Regions from separate parts of the Homo sapiens genome. Here regions 1, 2 and 4 are each linked to region 3. The links are contacts of gene promoters, found by promoter capture Hi-C in blood cells and fetal thymus (Javierre and others, 2016). All regions are on one chromosome and are shown on one strand. Each heading gives the region's core, a stretch centred on a gene start or on the middle of the fragment in contact. The rest is flanking DNA. Distances are from core to core; before and after follow the strand shown.

The links. Contacts are between HindIII fragments. The CHiCAGO score rates a contact against its expected background, and 5 or more counts as called.
Region 1: a contact is called between a fragment that was not itself captured here and the fragment with the promoter of JADE2 in region 3, in 1 of 17 cell types (total CD8 T cells). The highest score is 6.4, in total CD8 T cells.
Region 2: a contact is called between a fragment that was not itself captured here and the fragment with the promoter of JADE2 in region 3, in 6 of 17 cell types (erythroblasts, naive CD8 T cells, total B cells and 3 more). The highest score is 7.5, in erythroblasts.
Region 4: a fragment that was not itself captured here is called in contact with the fragment with the promoter of JADE2 in region 3 in 15 of 17 cell types (naive CD4 T cells, total CD8 T cells, total B cells and 12 more); the score reaches 17.1 in naive CD4 T cells.

The regions. Positions count from the first base shown.
Region 1 is chr5:134,278,908-134,281,607 of GRCh38, reverse strand. No RefSeq gene overlaps it. Among named protein-coding and RNA genes, the nearest start is that of PPP2CA-DT, 54 kb to the right of the region's middle. The HindIII fragment of the contact is 5,733 bases long and covers 1-2,700 here.
Region 2 is chr5:134,322,878-134,325,577 of GRCh38, reverse strand. All of the region lies in intron 4 of CDKL3 (cyclin dependent kinase like 3), which reads left to right. Among named protein-coding and RNA genes, the nearest start is that of CDKL3, 43 kb to the left of the region's middle. The HindIII fragment of the contact is 2,230 bases long and covers 185-2,414 here.
Region 3 is chr5:134,524,397-134,527,096 of GRCh38, reverse strand. JADE2 (jade family PHD finger 2) reads right to left here and starts at 1,427. Exons shown (of 12, transcript NM_001388185.1): 1 at 1,086-1,427. LOC124901070 (a long non-coding RNA gene) reads left to right here and starts at 1,495. Exons shown (of 3, transcript XR_007058942.1): 1 at 1,495-1,631; 2 at 2,014-2,191. RefSeq lists silencers at 1-957, 968-1,227, 1,258-1,337, 1,468-1,687, 1,708-1,757 and 1 more. The HindIII fragment of the contact is 6,085 bases long and covers 1-2,700 here.
Region 4 is chr5:134,388,937-134,391,636 of GRCh38, reverse strand. It overlaps UBE2B (ubiquitin conjugating enzyme E2 B), which reads right to left. Exons shown (of 6, transcript NM_003337.4): 6 at 1-1,412. The coding sequence ends at 1,284. Among named protein-coding and RNA genes, the nearest start is that of UBE2B, 19 kb to the right of the region's middle. The HindIII fragment of the contact is 476 bases long and covers 1,140-1,615 here.

The sequences.
Region 1 (2,700 bases), core at 157-2,656, 250 kb after region 3:
GGTGATCCACCCACCTCAGCCTCCCAAAGTGCTGGGATTACAGGTGTGAGCCACTGCGCCCGGCCCCATATATACGAAATTTTAAAAAATACTTTCTGAAGGTGTCAAAGAAGAAATAATAATGGAAATTAGATAATAATTTCCATATAATAATACATAGAAAATGATAATAAAATAATACATAGAAAATGATAATAAAAATGCAGTCTCAAAACATATGGCGTAAGATACTTATGCTTCTAGATATGATAGTTTGCAACAAAATTAAACATCCACTGAGAACCACTAAAGCCAGGTGAAATGCAAGAAATTTCTGTTTAAAGGCAGAGAGCTGATGATGTAATAGTGATTTGAGGGGATAATTCCAGAGAGTTGAGCTGATGGTTTGCAGTGGCTTTTTCCTGGGGAATATAGACTGATTCTTGAAACAAGAAAAAAACTGAGAATTCAGACTTAGCTCTGGAAGAGGGCCCCTACTACGGTACAGAGAAACTAACAGAACTTTCTAGTAGTTTCATACAGCTAGAGTGACAACATCAGAGACATGAACAGTCTGAACACATAGTTTGTTTCCCCTTCAAGACAGAGTGGAAAGATCTAACCTAAGTATAATTAGGTTCCCATAAGAAGAGGAGAGAGAAAATAAGGCAGAAGCGCTGGCGTGGTGGCTCACGCCTGTAATTCCAGCACTTTGGGAGGCTGAGGCAGGTGGATCACAAGGTCAGGAGTTCGAGACCAGCCTGGCCAATATGGTGAAACCCCATCTCTACTAAAAATACAAAAGTTAGCCAGGCACGGTGGCACGTGTCTGTAGTCCCAGCTACTCGGGAGGCTGAGGCAGAAGAATCGCTTGAACTCGGGAGGTGGAGGTTGCAGTGAGCTGAGATTGAGCCACTGCGCTCCAGCCTAGGTGAAAGAGCAAGACTCTATCTCAAAAATAAATAAATAAAATAAATAAATAAATAAATAAATAAGGCAGAAGCAATATTTGAAGAGAATGTCCAAAAATACTACCAAACTGATGAAAGACAAAAATTTATGTATTTAAGAAGCTCTGTAAACCCCAGGCAGGAAAAATACAAAGAAAACCCCACCTAGGCTGGTCATGGTGGCTCACACCTGTAACCCCAGCACTTTGGGAGGCCGAGGTGGGCAGATCACTTGAGACCAGGTGAGACCAGCCTAGCCAACATGGTGAGACCCCATGTCTACTAAAAATACAAAAAATTAGCCGGGTGTGCTGGCGTGCACCTGTAATCCCAGCTACTTGGGAGGCTGAGGTGGGAAAATTGCTTGAACCTGGGAGGCAGAGGTTGCAGTGAGCCGAGACAGCACCACCGCATTCTAGCCTGGGCGACCGAGTGAGACTCCGTCTCAAAAAAAAAAAAAAGAAAGAAAACCCCACCTAAGCACATCATAATGAAACTGCTTAATTCAAATATAAAAAGAAAATCTAAAAGGCAAGAAGTCATGTTTCCTTTAAAGGAGCTGATCTCAACAAAAATGATGAAATCCAGAAGACAATGAAATGACACCTTTGAAGTACTGAAAGAAAATAGCTGCCAAGCTAGAATCGTATATTCTGTGACAAAAATGAGGGCAAAATACAGACTTTTCTTCTTTTTAAGACAGTTTTACCCTTGTTGCCTGGGCTGGAGTGCAATGACATGATCTCGGCTCACTGTAACCTCCCCCTAAGCAAACATATAAGCAGAAAGAATTTATTGCCAGAAGATCTGCCTTAAGATAAAAGCTGAAGAGAGGTTTTTTTTTGTTTTGTTTTGTTTTGTTTTTGAGACGCTCTGTTGCCCAGGCTACAGTGGTGCAATCTCGGCTCATTGCAACCTCCGCCTACTGGGGTCAAGTGATTCTCATGCCTCAGCCTCCGAAGTAGCTGGAATTACAGGCACCTGCCACCACACCCAGCTATTATTATTATTATTATTATTATTGGTACATACAGGGTTTTACAATGTTGACCAGGCTAGTCTCGAACCCCTGACCTCAAGTGACCCTCCCACCTCAGCTTTCCAAAGTGCTGGGATTACAGGTGTGAGCTATTGTGCCTGGCCTGAAGAGAGTTCTTAAGGCAGAAGGAAAATAGTCCCAAATGGAAACAGGAAATTTGAAGGGAATGAAGAATAACAAAAGGGGGAAATGTGTGAGTAAATATAAATAAATATTGACTGTAAAGATTAATCATAGTAATATGAGGGCTTAAAATATATGTAGAATTAAAACTCATGACTCCAATAAAGCAAGAAGGAGAGGGCAAATAGAGATAAAGTGTTCTAAGATTTTAGCATTATCAGGGAAATATTAAAATAGTAATTTGTATTAAACTCAAGTCAAAGATGGTAAGTATAATTCCAACTGTATTAGTAATTACATTAAAACAAATAGAATAAATACTCCAAATAGAAGATGAATATTATCAGATTGGATTAAAAATTATCTAACTATAACCTGGGTATGGTGGCATGTGCCTATAATTCCAGCTACTCAGAAGGCTGAGGCAGGAGGATTGCTTGAGGCTAGGCATCAAGGCCAGCCTGGCCAACATAGTAAGACTCCAATCTAAAAAGAAAAGTTAAAAAAACCCCAGCTATATGCTGCATATAAAAAATATCTTAAGTATAAGACACTGAAATGCTCAAAGTAAAAGTTGGAAAAAGTATAGTGTGCAAACAATAATTGAAA
Region 2 (2,700 bases), core at 50-2,549, 200 kb after region 3:
CACTGGTGGGGAAATGTAAACTTGTACAATCTCTCTGGAAAACTGTTATTAAATAACAATTAAAGCTGAACATACACATATGTGTATTCACCAAAAGATCCAAAACTTGGTCTTAATTTTATTTATTCTCACTAAAACTTACTAATATTCATTAAATTCTTAAAACTTGTGAAATAAGCAAGCTTATAAGTTACTATTATATCATCTATGGTTATAATGTAGATCTGAAAAACTGTATATACTATAATTAATTCCTTTATTTCTTAGGTCATTATCTAGCAGTATACACACATGCATACACATACTTCTCCATCTCCTTCCTTTTGAACAGAAATAGGAACATACTATATACATAGTATAGAATCTTGGTTTCCCTCCCCACTCTTCTTTATTTACTTATGAGACAGTGTCGCATTCTGTCTCACAGGCTGAAGTACAGTGGCATACTCATGGCTCACTGCAGCTTTGATTTCCCAGGCTCAAGTGATCCTCCTGCCTCAGCCTCCAAAGTAGCTGGGACTACAGGCATGAGCCACCAAGCCCTGCCACTTTTTATTTGTTTATATTCAGGGACTTTAATTTTTAGACCAGTTTTAGGCTCCAGAAGAATTGAACAGAAAGTGTAGTTTCCTTATGTCCCCTCCACCCTACTCCACACATTTCTCTATTACTAACATCTTGTATTAGTGTGGTACATTTGTTACAATTGATGTACCAATATTGAACATTATTAACTAAATTCCATAGTTTAGAGTTTACTCTGTGTTGTATTTCCTGGGTTTTGATAAATGTATAATGTCATGTATCCATCATTATAGTATCATACAGAATAATTTTATGGTCCTAAAAATCTTCTGTGCTTCGTTTTTATTCTTCCGTCCCTCTCCCAGAACTGCTGGCAATCATTGGTCTTTTTACTGTTACTATACTTTAGGCTTTTCCAGAATATCATATAGTTGGAATCACATAGTATGTAGCTTTTTCAGACTGGCTTCTTTGACCTAGCAATATATATTTAAGGTTCCTCCTTTTTTTTTGGTATCTTGACAGCTCACTTCTCTTTTATTGCTAAATAATATTCCATTGTATGTATGTACCACAGTTTGTTTATCCACTCACCTATTGAAGGACATCTTTATTGCTTCCATGTGTTGGCAATTATGAAGCAAGCTGTTATAAGCATTCGTGTCCAGGTTTTTATGTGGACAGAAGTGTTCTACTCACTTGGGTAAATCCCAAGGAGAGCAATTGCTGGGTTGTATGGTAAGACTATGTTTAGCTTTGTTAGAAGCTGTCAAATTGTCCTCCAAAGTGACTGTGTAATTTTGTGTTTCTACCAGCAATGAATGAGAGTACCTGTTGTTTGCCATCCTCACCTGCATTTGATGTTGTCAGTATTTTGGATTTTAGGCATTCTAATAGGTGTGTAGTGGTATCTCGTTGTTTTAATTTGCAATTGTCTGATGACATATGATACTGGGCATCTGTTAATATGCCCATTTGCCATCTGTATATTTTCTTTGGTGAAATGTATATTCTTATATTTTGCCCATTTTTTAATTGGGTTATTTTCTTATTGAATTTTAAGAGTTTTATGTATTTTGGATACAAGTTCTTTATTATTTTGCAAATATTTTCTCGCAGTTTGTGGCTTGTCTTTTTATTTGCTTAACAGTATCTCTCATGGAGCAGAAAAGTTTAGTTTTAGTGAAGTTCTAACTATCAATTTTTTCTTTTGTGAATTATACTTTTGGTGTTGTATCTAAAAACTCATTACCAAACCTAAGGCCATCTAGATTTTTTCCTATGTGATTGTCTAGAGGTTTTACAGTTTTGCATTTTATATTTAGGTCTATCATCTATCTTGAGTTAATTTTTGTGAAAGGGATAAGGTCTGTGTCTAGATTCAGTTTTTTGTATGTTCCAGCACTATTTGTTGAAAAGACTGTCTTTTTTTTATCTTATTATTCAATTGCCTCTGTTCCTTTGTCAAAAATCAGTTGAGCACATTTGTGCAAGTCTATTTCTGGGTTCTTTATTCTGTTCCCTTGATCTATTTATCTATTCTTTCACCAATACCATACTATCTTGCTTGTTGTATAAAACATCTTGAAGTCAAGTAGTGTCAGTCTTTGTTCTTTTTCAAATTGTGTTGGCTATTCTGGGTCTATTGCCTCTCCATATAAACTTTGCAATCAATTGTCAATATCTACAAAACAATTTCCTAGGATTTTTAAAAATTTACAGATTAAATTGTATGTATTTATTGTGTACAGCATGATGTTTTGAGGTATATATATACGTTGTGAAATGACTAAATTTGGCTAATTTACATATGTGTGTTACCTCACATAATTATCAATTTTTAATTTACTGGGATTTTGTCTGGGATTGTATTGACTCTACATAAAGCTTGGAAGAACTGACATCTTGACAATATTGAGTCTTCCTATTGATGAACATGGAGTATCTCTCCATTTATTTAGATCTTTTATTTCTTTCATGAATGTTGCTTTTTTCACTTGACAGTTTATCTTGGAGATCATTCCATTTCAGCACATATAGATAGACCTACCTCATCAATTTTTTTTTTTTTTTGAGACTGAGTTTTGCTCTTGTTGCCCAGGCTAGAGTGCAATGGCATGATCTCGGCTCACCACAACCTCCACCTCCCGGGTTCAAGTGATTTTCCTGCCTCAG
Region 3 (2,700 bases), core at 178-2,677:
ATTTGAGAGTCAGGTGTGTGCGTCCCAAACGGGGTCCGCCACAAGCCGGCATCTTCCTGGTACCACCCATGGTGCAGGGCCCTAGGCAGAGGGCTGGGGACTGCGGATCCGTCCCTGAAGCGGGACGCGAACCGGCAGAGTTGGGAGAAGGTAAACAAGGGCCACGCCCCCTGCCGTCGCCCCGCGGGCGCGCACCCGCCGCTCCGGCCGCCGCCGGTACATTTCCACTCTCCCAGCGCCTCTCCCCAGCTGGACTACCGCGCGGCCCCGGAGGTGGAGGCTGCCCCCGACCCCAGTCCTCACCCCTGGCGCCGAGGCTCCGCACCCTCCACACTCACCTGGAAAGGGTGTCCCCCGCCCCTCCAAAAAAACTGTCTAATTTGTGCAGAGCCTCCAACCCCAGGAGCCGAGCATGCTGCCCCCGCGTGCAGCGCCCGCGTGCACCGGGCCGGGAGAGGGGGCGACAGGGCGGAGGCGGTGGCCCCCGGAAGGTGTCTGGGACCGGACCGGCTGCACGTGAGCCCAGCGCGAGGTCATGTGCACCGGCTCAGCCCGGTTCGGCGCCCGGACGTGCTGCGTATCAACAAAATGAAACTCGGGGAGACAGGAGGGCAGATAGCTCCAGGTTCTCGGAGCCCCCGCCCGGGCCGCTCGACCTCCCCACCGTACCCATCTCCCGCCGCAGCCCCTACGCCCGGCCGGAGCCCGCGGGGAAGTTGCAGCCCTGGCGCGCCCCCGCCCGCCCGCGCCCCCTCGCCGGCCCGGGGGCGCTTTGCCGCAGTCATTAATAAAGAAGGTCGCCAAGCTCACCCTTCCAAAAGTTGTTGTTGCATGCGCCCCTCTCAGCCTCCCCGCACTGTACTCTTTAAAACACGACTGACCAACATGCGCAATCTCTCTCCCCTGTGCTGTGCATCCCCCCCCTCTCCGCGCTGGCTTCCTAGAACAGGCAGCCAGCAGGAGAGAGAGGGAGCGAGCGAGCAAGAGAGAGCGAGGGAGCGAAGAGCGCTGGCAGATCTGTTGCAAAAACGCCAAATAACGTCGTGGAGATGCGCAGGGCCCATCCGCCGGGGGCTGGATCTTACCTTGCTCCGCGGTGCCCCCCTGACGGGCGCTGCCCTCGGCTACGCGCCGCTGCAGGGACCGGCGCGGGAAGGATGCTCCCGAAGCCGGGAGCTCCTGGGGCCGGCGCGGGAGGGCGGGGGGCGCGCATCCATCCGGGGTCGCGGCGAGGGAGGCGGCCGGGCCCGCGGCGTCCCAGGCCCCACGCCCCCCGCCGGGGACGGTCGGCCCGCAGGACCTAAGCCGGTGCCGCTAGGAGTGGGCGCAAAGTAACTCCATGGACGCTACTCACCCCCCCCAAAAAATAGCCTCCAACTGCGATGGCCGCGGTCGGCACCATTCACCAACCCCCTGTGTATGTTTCTGTTTCTTTTTAAACCAAGACTTCCTTGTGATCTCTTTAGAAAAAAAAAATGTGTTGGGGTGGGGGTGGGGTGGGGGCGGGCAGGAGGAGCGAGGGAGGGGGAGTAGCCACTTTTTTCTTATTCACTCGGATCTCCGCTCCCGACACCCCCGTCGCCGCCCCCCCAACCCCCCGCCCAGTTGTTTGGCTCCGGCGGGGAGTCCAGGTAGCGTTGCGGGCCCCGTGGGGGAAGGGTGCCCTCCCTCGCAGCCCCACCACCACGCCTGCTGGCACCCTGGGCCCGGACTCCCCATGGACTCTGGGGCGCCCCTAGCCCGCCCTGTCCCCAGGGCCGGGCCCGAGCGGCGGCTGCGCCCGTGCAAGTCCCATCAGGTCTGCTCACACTTCACACACTCACACACATACCCCGCCCCTCCACTCTTTCACTCACACTTTCTGCTCACACCCCGCCCCCTACGCGCCCCAGACCCGGGCGGCGCCCCCCGCAACCTTAAAAAAAAAAAAAAGCGAGCTTATACTTAAAAAAATCTTTTGGCGCCATATTAATGACGTACTTAAAATTTGCCATTTCTCCCTGCGTCAAAAAGACGTTTCTTTGCAAATAACAGCCTGGAGGCGACACTCGCGGAGGGAACGAGGTTTGCACTGAGCACCCCGCCCCCCGGGGCTCCAGCGCTGGAAGACCCTCGCCCTAGGCCCTGCTTCTGAATCGCTGGTTTTAAAATGCGAATCGAATAAATTGCGTGGCGTTTTGCAGCACCAGAAGTGAGCAGAAAGTGCTGGCAGGAGGGGAGTGGAGGGGCGAACGCGAGTCTTGGGGAGGGGGCGCGGCCCTCCTCCCCGCACCCACTCCAAATGGAAAACTAACATTCCGGGCGGGGGAACTTGAAATTGTAGGCGACCTCAAGAAAAGAGGGGCGGTCCGTAGAGAGGGTCCCCATTGGGCTCGTCGCCCCCTCCCCCCTCCCGGGTGCCTCCTGGCGCCTAGCGCTGCCCCGCATTTCCGGGGGGTGGAGAAGGCAGTGATGAGCGGGTGGGTGGGTGGTTGCACATCCTGGCCCCAGCAGGATTTTGCCCCGGGGCGACCCCTTCCTCCTTGCTCTTCCTTCCCATTACCCCGAAAGGGTTAAAAACCGAGGGGTAACTTCCAAAGGCTGGCACATGGCGAGGAAGCGGGGCGCCCCTCTCCCCACCCTTCGCCTCCTCGCCCCTCCTCCTCCGGCTCCACTTCCCGACTTGACCTTGTGGTGCACAAACAGTACGCTCGGATCCTC
Region 4 (2,700 bases), core at 128-2,627, 140 kb after region 3:
GAAGCTGTAGATATTGCCATACTGTAATCCAATTTTATGGATATGAGAAGAAACTCTTGGGGTTACTAAAATAGCTGTTTTAACTACTAGAGAGACTACACAGGTGGTTCAACAGAATTTACTTGTATATTTTCCATTTTCTATACTATTTGAAGGCATAGGATAGTTTTGTATTAGCTTTCTACAATACTGTGTTTTAAATTTATCCAGTAAACTAAGATGCAGTACAACTTTTATACAACTCAGGAGATTAAAAAAAAAATCTCCACAAGAAGAAGCAACTCAGCAGGCCCTGGCATTAAAACATTTCCCAGAATAAACAGATATGCATTGCATTAAAGGTAATTTTCAAATATTTAAGTTACACCAAGATTTCCCTCCAATATGTGCCTTTCTCAAACCAATGCAACTAATTCATTGCTAATACTGGGGCATGAATTTTTGGCAAATGTTTATGGTTTTACTTTCTTCATTAATCAAAAAATTTTTTAAAGTGCTACCAAGCAGCAAAACAAGTCGCATCAGTTCTCTGCTCATGGCAGAAGTGCCAACTGTGAAATCGCAAAAGGTACAGTTTTAACAGTAAGTAATGCATGAAGAAACTGTAACAAATGGCCTAAATACAGAGTTGGACAGAGTCAAACCAGTTATGTCTAGAATTACTCAATTGAAACTAATAGAGGTACATTCAAAATAAAGTTGGAGATTATAATCGCTATTTAGAATCAAATTTGAAGACTTCCTTGATAAAATATAAGAATGTTCTTTTGAAATTGTAAATGAAACTATCAATAGATGGAGAGCTAGAGACTTATTAACCCCTCCTACACACATAAGGAAATAAGTGACAAAGTCTCTTGCACTGAAGTTATGTATTTTAACAGCTTTACATGTAATATTCATATATAAAAAACTTTAAGTGCTTTTCTCCAATTTAAAAATCTAAAGAATTCAAAAATAAGGCATTCAATATTTGAAAAAAGTACAGATTTACAAAATGTGTATATTCTGTCATGAAAACTCCACACCAACATTATACACTTGGAAAAAAATACAAACAGGATATATTACAAATTTATGCAGCAATAACTTAGTTCACACCATGCAATAAAAAGTACATTAATCAAGATACACAAGCTTTTGTAGGTTCTAAACTGAAGGACTTTTTTCTTTTTTTTCTGCAGAATCCTTAAAACCTGTGGCACTTAAAATTTGTTAGCCTTTCTAATGAGAGGTAAATTATACACAACAATGATGAAAAAGATTAACAGACCAGTTGTCTATTATGAATCATTCCAGCTTTGTTCAACAATGGCCGAAACTCTTTTCTCATATTCTCGTTTGTTTTCCTGATAAAGCTGTGCTGCCTGGCTATTGGCTGGACTGTTAGGATTCGGTTCATCCAGCAGAGACTAGGAGGAAAGAAAAGAAAAAACAGATTTGCATAGTTGTTCTTTATACCAACAGGGGTCAGATATGGAATATATTACAGAAAAGTTATACAAAACAACAAATTACTTCAGAGATTAACATGTCATATAATTTTGGGTCTAAATACTTTTAGAAATGATTTGATAAATACTATGGGGTTTCCTGCTGCTAAGGAACTTAAGCTTCTGAAATAAAGTTCTCAATTGCCTTAAGACCTATAATTTCAGCTGGGTACAGTGGCTTGTGCCTGTAATCCTAACACTTTGGGAGGCCAAGGCAGGAGGATCCCTTGAGCCCAGCAGTTCAAGCCCAGCCTGGGCAACATAGGGAGACCCTGTTTCTATTAAAAAAGAAAAAGAGGTCGGGTGTGGTGGCTCACGCCTGTAATCCCAGCACTGTGGGAGGCCGAGGCGGGCAGATCACCTGAGGTAGGGAGTTCGAGACCAGCCTGACCAACATGGAGAAAACCCCGTAATTTCTAAAAATACAAAATTAGCCGGGTGTGGTGGCGCATGCCCGTAATCCGCTACTCGGAAGGCTGAGGCAGGAGAATTGCTTGAACCCGGGAGGCAGAGGTTGCAGTGAGCTGAGATCGCGCCACTGTACTCCAGCCTGGGCAACAAGGGTGAAATTCCGTCTCAAAAAAAAAAAAAAGAAAAAAGAAAAGAAAAAAATACCTATAATTTGAAAGAAATCAGAAAAGAATATTCTTAAGCATATTGAGACGTTCTCATTAAACCAAGGAAATAAACAGCTTAATTTGGTTAAGATATCAATAATTCTCAGTAACCAACATTTTCCAAGGTTAAACTCTATTACTGCAGTTACTTTGCAAATGTCTTGACAGTAAATTTGGGAGATAAGTCTTATTTCCTTTAATCAACAAAACATATACATTTAGCAGGAAGAGAATGAGATAGGAAGGTTGAAAAACAACGCTTGTAAGATGACCAGAACTGGCCTGGTGCAGTAGCTCACGCCTGTAATCCCAACACTTTCGGAGGCTCAGACGGGCGGATCATGAGGTCAGATGGAGACCATCCTGGCTAACACTGTGAAACCCCATCTCTACTAAAAATACAAAAACTTAGCCAGGCGTGGTAGCATGTGCCTATAGTCCTAGCTACTCAGGAGGCTGAGGCAGGATAATCACTTGAACCCGGGAGGCAGAGGTTGCGGTGAGCCAAGATTGTGCCATTGCACTCCAGTCTGGGCAACAGAGCAAGACACTGTCTCAAAAAAAAAAAAAAAAAAAAAAACAATTAAAGA